Regions from separate parts of the Homo sapiens genome. Here all the other regions are linked to region 2. Evidence: promoter capture Hi-C in human tissues and cell types (Jung and others, 2019). All regions are on one chromosome and are shown on one strand. The core of a region is centred on a gene start or on the middle of the fragment in contact, and the rest is flanking DNA. Distances in the headings are between cores, read along the strand shown.

Evidence for each region. Contacts are between HindIII fragments. The study calls those that stand out against the background at their distance.
Region 1: a fragment that was not itself captured here is called in contact with the fragment with the promoter of FAM83G in region 2 in 1 of the 25 tissues and cell types used here (hippocampus).
Region 3: a fragment that was not itself captured here is called in contact with the fragment with the promoter of FAM83G in region 2 in 1 of the 25 tissues and cell types used here (spleen).

Annotation. Positions count from the first base shown.
Region 1 is chr17:18,611,712-18,614,753 of GRCh38, reverse strand. It overlaps LOC107985051 (a long non-coding RNA gene), which reads right to left. Exons shown (of 3, transcript XR_001752812.2): 3 at 1-3,042. It also overlaps the pseudogene CCDC144BP. Among named protein-coding and RNA genes, the nearest start is that of TBC1D28, 31 kb to the left of the region's middle. The HindIII fragment of the contact is 7,367 bases long and covers 1-3,042 here.
Region 2 is chr17:19,002,778-19,006,084 of GRCh38, reverse strand. FAM83G (family with sequence similarity 83 member G) reads left to right here and starts at 1,321. Exons shown (of 6, transcript NM_001039999.3): 1 at 1,321-1,376; 2 at 1,916-2,565. The coding sequence starts at 2,044. The region is part of intron 9 of SLC5A10 (solute carrier family 5 member 10); the gene reads right to left. RefSeq lists a silencer at 1,150-1,449. The HindIII fragment of the contact is 10,221 bases long and covers 1-3,307 here.
Region 3 is chr17:19,362,566-19,365,761 of GRCh38, reverse strand. It overlaps B9D1 (B9 domain containing 1), which reads left to right and starts at 3,039. Exons shown (of 7, transcript NM_015681.6): 1 at 3,039-3,196. The coding sequence starts at 3,193. LOC105371573 (a long non-coding RNA gene) reads right to left here and starts at 2,985. Exons shown (of 3, transcript XR_934302.4): 1 at 2,591-2,985; 2 at 2,252-2,282. RefSeq lists enhancers at 2,570-2,639, 2,196-2,980 and a silencer at 3,130-3,196. The HindIII fragment of the contact is 4,902 bases long and covers 1-3,196 here.

The DNA.
Region 1 (3,042 bases), core at 461-2,960, 390 kb after region 2:
AACATGGTACTGGTTTCAGCTGCATCATTCATATTAAATAGCAAGGCTGCTTACAGTTTTGACATTTGGTGAATACTTAACAGGTATTGGTACATAAGTTACTATGGCAATATTAAGTAATTATAATCTGTCCTTCTTATCTGATTAACCTTTCAGTAAAATTGTGGGATAAAGTAGGCATAATAAGTTCTGATTTAAAATTAGAATAAAAATTGTCTTTCATTTTATTTTCATGGATGGACCAGTTTTGATTCATATTGTACTAAATCCCTGTTTACAATTATGAAATAAGATCAGATATTCAATCATTTTTGTGAATTTTTTTTTGCCTAAGTATACAATTAAAATTAATTGCTTTATGTGTTTTTATATGCTTCAATTTCGGAGATAGTACTCGTATTCTGTTACCTTGATCTTTAGTGATTTGCAATTTTCAAGGTGACTCTGTCTTTTTATAATTTAGGGTAATAGCAAGTTCAGTGAGTATGTGCTTTAGAATTAATAATATTATTTTCTGAGCAGTTCTAGATTCACAGCAAAATTGAGAAGGTACAGAGATTTTCCATATTCCCCATGACCCCTGACATATGAATAGCCTCCCTCATTATCAGTACCCCCCATCAGAGTTCATCAGAGTTACAGTTGAGGAATCTACCTTGACAGACACATCACCCCCAAGGTCCACAGTCTACGTTAGGGTTCACTCTTGGTTTTGTACATTCTATGGTGTTGGACAAATGTGTGATGGCATGTATATACCCTTGTAGTATCACAGACAAAATAGTTTCACTGCCCTAAATATCCTCTGTCCTCCACTGTTTCGTCTCTTCCTCTCCACTGGTTTCTGGCAACCATTGGTCTTTTTGGTGTCTCAGTAGTTTTGCTTTTTCCAGACTAGTCATATAGTTGGAATAAAACAGTGGTGGATATCTTTTTGAATATTTAAACAATAAAGTTCCATGGTAATTTGATTCTGTCATTTTAGATGTTCTTTGTCCTTGTGTTTGTTTTCCTCATGTTGTGTTCATCAGAACAGGATCTGATGGCGTATGATTTGACGTGCTGAGAAAGCGTGATTTCTGTAGATGTTTGCCACGTAACGGGGAGGGTGGGGAAAAATGGCATCATGCAGTATTCCACAGCACTAACTGGACCATCGTGCTCTAGGAGATGGGTCCAGATAGAGTCTAGCGATGGGACGGGATAATCTCAAGAGCTGGACTTTATAAAACTGGAATCACAAAGTCTTGCATACTTACCTTGCACTTAAAAAGAAGATCAGGCAGTGAACACTACAGGTGAATAAATATGTTCCTCTCTGGTTCTCTTCCTTTTAGGGATGAGCTTGAAAACAGTCTATATTATTAGAATATGGCTCATCTACAACTAAATGCTCTGTCATAGGAAATGCCAGTGTTTTTCTTTACAATAAATGAAAAATAATGTTGTTTTCACCAGAGAGAGTAACAACTGTTGGCACATTCTGGCAGCTTGAGTGAGCTGATAGTTCTGTTTATATATATTTTTCATACCAGGTAGTACTCCCTGGCAACCTGCCACCACTGTGGCAGTGTTTCTTCTTAAGCTTCTCACTGAATGAATGGTGTGGCTCAGAGTGAATAAGCTCTTTAAGGGAGTGATCTTTCCAGTGGTTCTGTCCATAGGAGGTAAAATGGGAGGTGAATTTGAGCCTTGTTTGTGCTAGGGAAAATAGCTAGAACTCAGTAAACATTGCCAGCATCTGCCCCAGAAGAGGATTAGTGAGAGTGAGTACATTGATCTCCCTTGAGCTCTTCTCCACTGGCAGCTGAAAAGTCTTTGCAAAGATCCTTATCCCTGGTCTCTTCCCTATGTTTTGCCACAGAACACAGCACAGCACCCATAGACCTACACAATAAAATGTACAGTTTTCCCCCCTTATCCATGGGGGTTATGTTCCAAGACCCCCAGTGAATGCCTGGAACAGTGGATACTACTGAACCCTAGATATGCAATGTCAGGATAGAAGGAAGAGGATAAGAGTAAAAGGGGGAATAAAGAATGTGGAAGGCAGAGAGTACAGAGAGTAAATGAAGGGAAAAGAAGCAAGTGGATATGATGGAGGGTGGTAAAATGAGATAATACTTCAAAAGAAGAGTGGGGTATTAGAAAGGTGGAAAGAATATAAGGTGAACGTGCAGCACCAAAACTTATCAGATAAGACAAACTTTACTTGCCAATATGTTAGTTGTGCTTTAAGTTTAATTATTTCATCATAGTGTGGCTATACTGATGATTTTAAGCCAGTCAGATATTCTGGTCAGCAAATCATGTGTGTGTGTTTTGATTATCAAAAACGAAGAAAGCAATTAATTACCCTTAATAACTACATGGTGGACACAGTCTTTTAAAACATTGATTCTGAAACTTTTTGGCCTGGGGTTCGTTTTATATGATTAAATATTATTGCCTAGAGGTAACCAACACCCTGAATTAAGAATTTATTATGTCCATTCCCTTTTAAAACATTTTATTACATATGTGTATGGTCATAAATAATATGTAGAATTTGTTTTCATGTCCTAAAATTGTATATAAATTGTTTTACACTCTACATATTTTGCAACTTTCTTTTGTCTGGTCACATTACATTTTTGAGGTCAGTCCTTATTGACACAGGAAGCTCTGGTTTTCTATCAAATGACTGGATCTCAAACTCTCTTCATAATGATAAATAAATAATTAAAATAAAGAAAAATTATTGCAAATTCCAAAGAGCTTTTATTTAAGTCGGTTGTGTCTTTTGATATTTACTATTTTAGAAATAAAAACTAAAATATTTTAAAAACAAGCATGCGGCCAGGCGTGGTGGCTAACGCCTGTAATGCCAGCACTTTGGGAGGCCGAGGCGGGCGGATCACGAGGTCAGGAGATCGAGACCATCCTGGCTAACACGGTGAAACCCCGTCTCTACTAAAAATACAAAAAATTAGCCGGGCGTGGTGGAGGGCGCCGGTAGTCCCAGCTACTCGGGAGGCTGAGGCAGAGAATGGTGTGAACCTG
Region 2 (3,307 bases), core at 72-2,571:
GGTGGTGGAGGTGGGAGTGAGGCCTTGGACTCCCTTCCTGAACTCTCCAGCCTCTGTGCATTGGTAAGAACACAGGGAGAAGCTGAGGCGGCTCAGAGAAGGTCTTACAGGGGATCCACAGTAGCAGAGGGGCTATAAATGGGTCTTCAGGACCCTCAAGGCAGGGCTCCCCCGCTGGGATCACCTCCCCTCTCTGGCCCTGGGGCAGGAGGAGGATGCAAATATGTGTGCCTGTTCCCCAGGGGCCACTATGTTCAGTAGCATAAAGCCCTTGGGGGGCTATATGGCAGAGTGTAGGACTTCATGCTTGAGGGGTCAGTGATGGGGACCACAAGGATGCTGGGCCTAGGAGGCTAGTCATTGCCCAGGGCAGTGGACTCAGAGGCAAGGAGTCCTGATGGGCCATGAATGGTGGAGAAGGCCTTGGAGGGGGGGGGTTTGAGGGCACAAGGCCTAGAGATGTCACCAGCCTACGGAAGCAGCATCCTTACGGGACCCAAACCAGCCCCATCCAGATCCAGAGCAAGTATGGGGGATGGGAGGAAGGGCTGGGCCTGGTGCCGGGCAGACTGGCTGCGGCACGCGATGGGGTGGGGGCTGTTTGTTGGGCCAGATTTAATGGGCTTTGCTGTCCCACCCTCAAAGCCTGCCTTCAGATGTGGTCTCCACGCTCCCCATAACCAGGGTCCCAACCCCAGGGGACGCTCAGCAGAGAGCTGGGCCTGACCCCAGCCCACAGCGGCCCTCTTGGCCCCTCCCTGCCCTAGGGTTCAGGTCGGGTGCTGCCCGCCACGCAGAAGCAGTCCGGGGACCCCTCCCAGAGGGGATCAGGGCTTAGGACTGAGAACTGGGTATCTGCTCAGGAAAGCCCTGAGTTTGGGTCAGTCAGTGCCCTATCCCTGCCTGGGGGCTCCCAGCCCAGTACCCTAGACCTGTTTCCACAACTGGACAGCTGGGTATCTATACAGCCGCACGGACTTCCCGCCACGCCGGCGAAACTGGGCACAGCCAGGGTTGATCCAGGATCACCAACAGACCCTGGGGGCACAGGGGGGTGCCAAGGCTGTTGACCCGCTGTGTGACCTCAGGGAGAACACTGTCCCTCTCTGGGATGGGTGTTCCAGGAGCTCTTGGGCTTAGGCCTCTGATATTTTCGGAATTCGGGCACCAGGGGACCGTGGGCAGTGCGTCCGCCCCAGGTCTGTCTGTCTGTCGAGGGGTGAATCAGCTTCCGGCCCCGCCCCGGGCGGCACGTGACCGCAGGTGGCGGCGGCGGGGTAAGCGGGGCGGCCCTGAGTCACCGGCGCGCCCCCGCCCAGCCTCGCGCCGCCGCCGCAGCCGCCGCGTGTGCGCCCCGCTCCGCCAGCGCCCGCTCGGTAAGCAAGTCCCGGCCGCGCCCCCCGGATCCCGGGTCTCGCGGGGCGTCGCCGCCCCGCAACCGCGTTTCTGGGTCTCCTGGACCCCTCCCAGAGCCCCAGCCTCCTCCGGGCAGGCCTCCTGGGTTGCCGGCACCCGGAAATTTTAAGACCCCTCCCTTACCCGGAAGCCCTCGGTTTGCGGGGCGCCTCTGTGCCGGGGCCGCCTCCCACTCTAAGAAGCTACTGGGAAGTTCCCCGGCTGCCCTAGTTTCCCTCAGAAGTTGCGAGGACTTCAGGCAGCTCCGGAAATCTGGGATATGGGTTCCCTGCACGTAGAGGCACGCTGAGCCCTGGGACGTGGCCCACCGCTCCCTCACCGCTGTTCCGATCCCTTACTTTCTTCCCATCCCAGTCCAGTGCCCCCACCTCATCTTCCCAGCCCCAGCCCCAGCCCCGTCCTTCCCACGCCCACCTGAGTTCCCGGCCCCGCCCCCGCCGCCCCTCCCCGCGCGGCCCGCCCTCCCCGCCGAGCCGGGCTCATCAGGTCTTTCCCGCAGATTGCTCATGGGCAGAGAAGCAGAGGCCGCGGAGAGGCCCCCGAGCGCGCGGTGCCCCAGCTGGGCCGGAGCTAGGAGCTGGACCTTGCCCACCCACCCCCGGCAGCAGTGCCCGGGCAGGCGGCGCCATGGCCTTCTCTCAGGTGCAGTGTCTGGACGACAACCATGTGAACTGGCGCTCCAGCGAGTCCAAGCCTGAGTTCTTCTACAGCGAGGAGCAGCGGCTGGCGCTGGAGGCCCTGGTGGCCCGCGGCCGGGACGCCTTCTACGAGGTGCTCAAGCGGGAGAACATCCGAGACTTCCTCTCGGAGCTGGAGCTCAAGCGCATCCTGGAGACCATCGAGGTGTACGACCCGGGCTCTGAGGACCCTCGGGGCACGGGCCCCTCTCAGGGGCCCGAGGACAATGGGGTCGGCGACGGCGAGGAAGCCAGCGGGGCGGATGGGGTCCCCATCGAGGCCGAGCCGCTGCCCTCCCTGGAGTACTGGCCCCAGAAGTCGGACCGCTCCATCCCGCAGCTGGACCTGGGCTGGCCCGACACCATCGCCTACCGCGGCGTGACCCGGGCTAGCGTCTACATGCAGCCCCCCATAGACGGGCAGGCCCACATCAAAGAGGTGGTGCGGAAGATGATCAGCCAGGCACAGAAGGTGAGGCAGCGCGGGGACTCCTGGAGCCATGGCCCAACCAGCCACCGGACCCCTCTCAATACAGGCTCACTCAGAGCCCAAAACGGGAGCCCAACATGGGCTTCTAGGGATCTCTGCTGTTTTCCCTGGCTGCCTCTTGGGTGGAGGTTTCCTCCCCACCTTCGTGGGGATCCGCAGTTTCTTTGCAGGGTAGGGTTCCCAGGTCCTAGCAGGTGACAGTGGGCTGCCCCGTCTCAAAGGGCCTCTTTATTGTTGGAGGGTGTTTCTGGTTCCCCAGAAGAAGGCACCGAGATAGGGTGGAGTGGGGAGGGGAGGAACCCCAGGGCTTCCTCTCACTCTCCCTTAGAGTGGCTCTGATTCACTGTAAAGGCGCGCACACACCATGAGCTCTCTGGTGGGGAGAGCTTTTGTTGTGGGGTGAGGGAATAGGCATGGTCCAAGTCCATCTGAGACTGGCCTGGAGGTCCTTGTTCAACACTGCCTGTTTCCTAGCTGTGCTGAGCAACTGGGAGCAGATTGCACACCCTCTCTGAGCCTCTTTGTGAGCTTTGCAATGGTGGAAACTTTCCAGGCCAGGATGCTTGGGTGAGGGAGGTGTGGTCCTCATCTGTGGAAGTGGAGTGAGTCCACCTGAGCATTGTCCACCTGAATTTTGCCACCGGAAGGGACCTCAAGCCTTCTCTGGCCCTCCCCTTCTCCACCCCTGTTGGGCTATGCAGTGCCCTAGCTGTGGGGGGCCATT
Region 3 (3,196 bases), core at 688-3,187, 360 kb before region 2:
GGCTCCGAGAGGTTAAAGGACTTTCCCTGAGTCACATAGGATTCCACTGCAGGCAGTCTGATTTTGAGCTGGAGGGGTGAGGGGTGGAAGCTGGGCTGCAGAGATCGCAGGGCTGGATGGAAAGAGATGCATGGTAGACCTGCAAGGCCCTGGGACCCGGAGCTGAGCTCTGAGGCTTCAGTCTCCTGAGGTGCAGGGTCCAGGCTGGCTGAGGCCTCCAGCAAGAAGGGCCCAGACAAATGGCTTGGCCAGGCCAGCATCTTCCTGGACACCTGGTGCCGCTGTGAGGGGGCCCTCATCTCCCAAGAGTGGGTGCTCACAGGCGCCAACTGCTTTGACAGGTGGGTGCACAGCCAGGAGGGGTGGTGGAGAGGGGCTCCAGGAGGGTGGCCCCCAGCCTCTCCAGCTCTCCACCTCCCCTTCACCTCCTCTCTCCACAGTTGGCCTTGGTCCCACTTCAGTGTGACCTTGGGTCCAGATCGACTGCAGATGGACTCTTGTGAGATCAGGTTACCATGGGGGAGCTGCTCTTGTCCTCAGCAGGGCCCGAGGGCTCTGGGTTTGGTAGCCTGGTCCTGGCACAACTGGCAAGGGGCAAGGCCTCCGTCGCTCACCAGCGCTGTGCAGGCCGTCCCCCTGGCCACTCAATCCCACTGTTCCCTCTTCCTGAGACAGCTCTGCTGGGGCCAGGGGTTTGAACCCGATTTCAGTAAGGATGGGAGCAGAAGCCTGGGATGGTTGAGAGACTGGGGGAGGCAGATGGCCAGGGTGGAGCTTGGGACCCTGCAGGGGCTCTGGCCAGCTGCCCGGCAGCACCATGGCCATAGGCATGCAGGGAAGAGGGCTGGCGCTGACACCTGCTCTGCTCAAGCCAGCTTCCAGCCTCACCCCTGCCCAATGGCTGACAGCCCCGCCTGCCCAATGTGCTGGAAGCTTCCCTGAGGGGACTGCGTGGGAGTGTACCAGAGGACAGAGCTGTACTAAGAGTGAGGTGGGAGCGAGGAATGTCTAGGAGCCCAGGAAGGCATCTGGGGGTGGAGAGACTTGGCACAGGCACAGGCAGGGAAGCTCAGCAATATATGTTAACAACCAGCATGGCTGGACTGGTGCAGATCGGCTGGATGTCAGCTGGGCTGAGGGTCTGCCCCACCCCATTGCAGATCCCTACATCCCACCCCAAGAGCTGCAGAGTGTCCTGCTGAGATCGCTGTGTGTCAGCATCTGCAGAAACTACCTTCTCCTCCAACCTGACTGTCCTGACCTGAAGGACAGCCTGCCCAAGGACTTCTAGTACACCAGGCTCTCCACTGGGCCCTTGAACTGGTGGTAAGGATTCCAGCAGGCCCTATGCAAGCCCCTATGCAAGCCCCTGAGACCCCTCTCCTAAAGTCGCTTCTAATGCCACTAGACTTGTTAAAGTTAGGCCTGGTCACCCTCCCATCCTATCCTGGAGTCTTCCATTCCCCAACACCCAGGGGTCGGGCTTATTTGTACCCCTGAAGGCCACCCTAGAACTTCCCACCCCTTGGGGAGACTCCCCCATTATGTCCTATTTGAATGTGGGGCCACCTTTGGTATAGCCAGGTCTTAAACTACTGGGAGCCCCCAGTTATTCGATAACTACAAGCATTTTGCTGAAAACTAACTTGTGTGCAACACCGAGCCTCAAAGGCCAAAGGGAGGAAATAATTGGGTGAGACTGATAGAATGTGTGGGAGAAAGCACTTTAACTGGAAAGAGATGGACAGAGCGGGGGAAGAAGGGAGTATGACCCCCTCTCCAGGAGGGGAAATGGGCCCTGTCTTGGGCTCTGGGTGCAGCACTTGGGCCACCAGCCCACCCATCCCCTCCCCCAGCTGCTCTTGTCAGATGTGTGAACTGGTTACCCGCTGCCTCCCTCCCCTGATCAAATATCTTTGCTCACTAGGCAGGGGGTGGTTCAGTGGGTGCAGGCTGGGCTGAGACTGCTCCTTCCCTCCCTCGTGCAGATGGTTGATGGGACTCCCCTAGTCTGCTCCCAAGCTAGAAGCTGCAGAATGTGATGACCTGGGGTCCCTGCTCGGAGCCTGGCCTCCCGGGAGTCTACACACCTGTGAATCCCTTCATTTCCTGGATCCAAGATAATGTCTCCAACGTCTCCTTTGACACCTCTGCCAACAGATGCTGTTGGGGCTGGCCCAGGACAAGACAGAGGCAGTGAGGGTTGTTAGCCTCTGGAGTCCTGGGTTTGAATCCTGACTTAGCTACTTACCTGCCTTTGCCATCTGAATCTGTTTCCTCCTCTGTAAAATGGAGATGTCTTCAATTATTCATTTATCAACAAGTTAGTAGTTACCAAGTGCTTACTCTGTGACAGGCCACTAAGATACAAGACTGTATCTTGACAGATTCGTGGATTTTGGCTAGCAACTCCCCTGAGCGCTGGCTGATTGGGGTGCCAGGCGCCGCCCGCTGCGGGCCTCAGTTTCCCCAGCTTCGAACTAAAGAGCGATGGCTTGGATGTAAGGATTCTTGAGGTCCCTCCCAAGTTTGTTTAATAAACTTTTTCGAGGGCAAGCGTCTCCAAGCCACAGGGGCGCATCCTTTTCACCTGCTTGGACGCTGCTTGGCCCCAGCTGGGGAGGCTCCTCCGAGCACCCGGCATTCCAGAGTTAGCCCCGACAGCTGTGGTCACGTCGCCCGTGCTCTGCAGCGCCTCCCTCCGCGTCCTCGCGGTGGGGCCACAGCGACATCTAGTGGCTGAATGTATTTTAAACACTCGGCTTGCTGAGGGCGTGAGTCGGAGCGCTGCTCCCCAGGACTCAGCTCTCATTCGCCTCTGCGCTTCGGCGGGGACGGGGAGCCGGGCCGAGTCAGAGTGAACACACACTCCCTGCGCGTGCAACTGAGTCGAGCGGTAGGGCTGGCTTTACCCGACAGGTCAACGCTCCCGCCCCAGCTCTCGGTCATACCTGCCCTAAGGAGGGGTGGAGCCTCGGCGTGGATCCCCGCCCCTTGTGCCCCGCCCCCTTATAACGGCGCCCGTTCACTGCGCCTGCGCATGCCACACGCGCACTCGCGTGGCCTTCGCGAAGGTGTCGCTGCCAAGAAACGTGTCCTGCGCGCTACGCCGTCTGTTTCTAGGGCAACGCCGGCGTCTCTTAGCAACCGCGCGCGGCCTAGGTGGGTCCCCCCGGCACCCCCAGACCTGCCATGG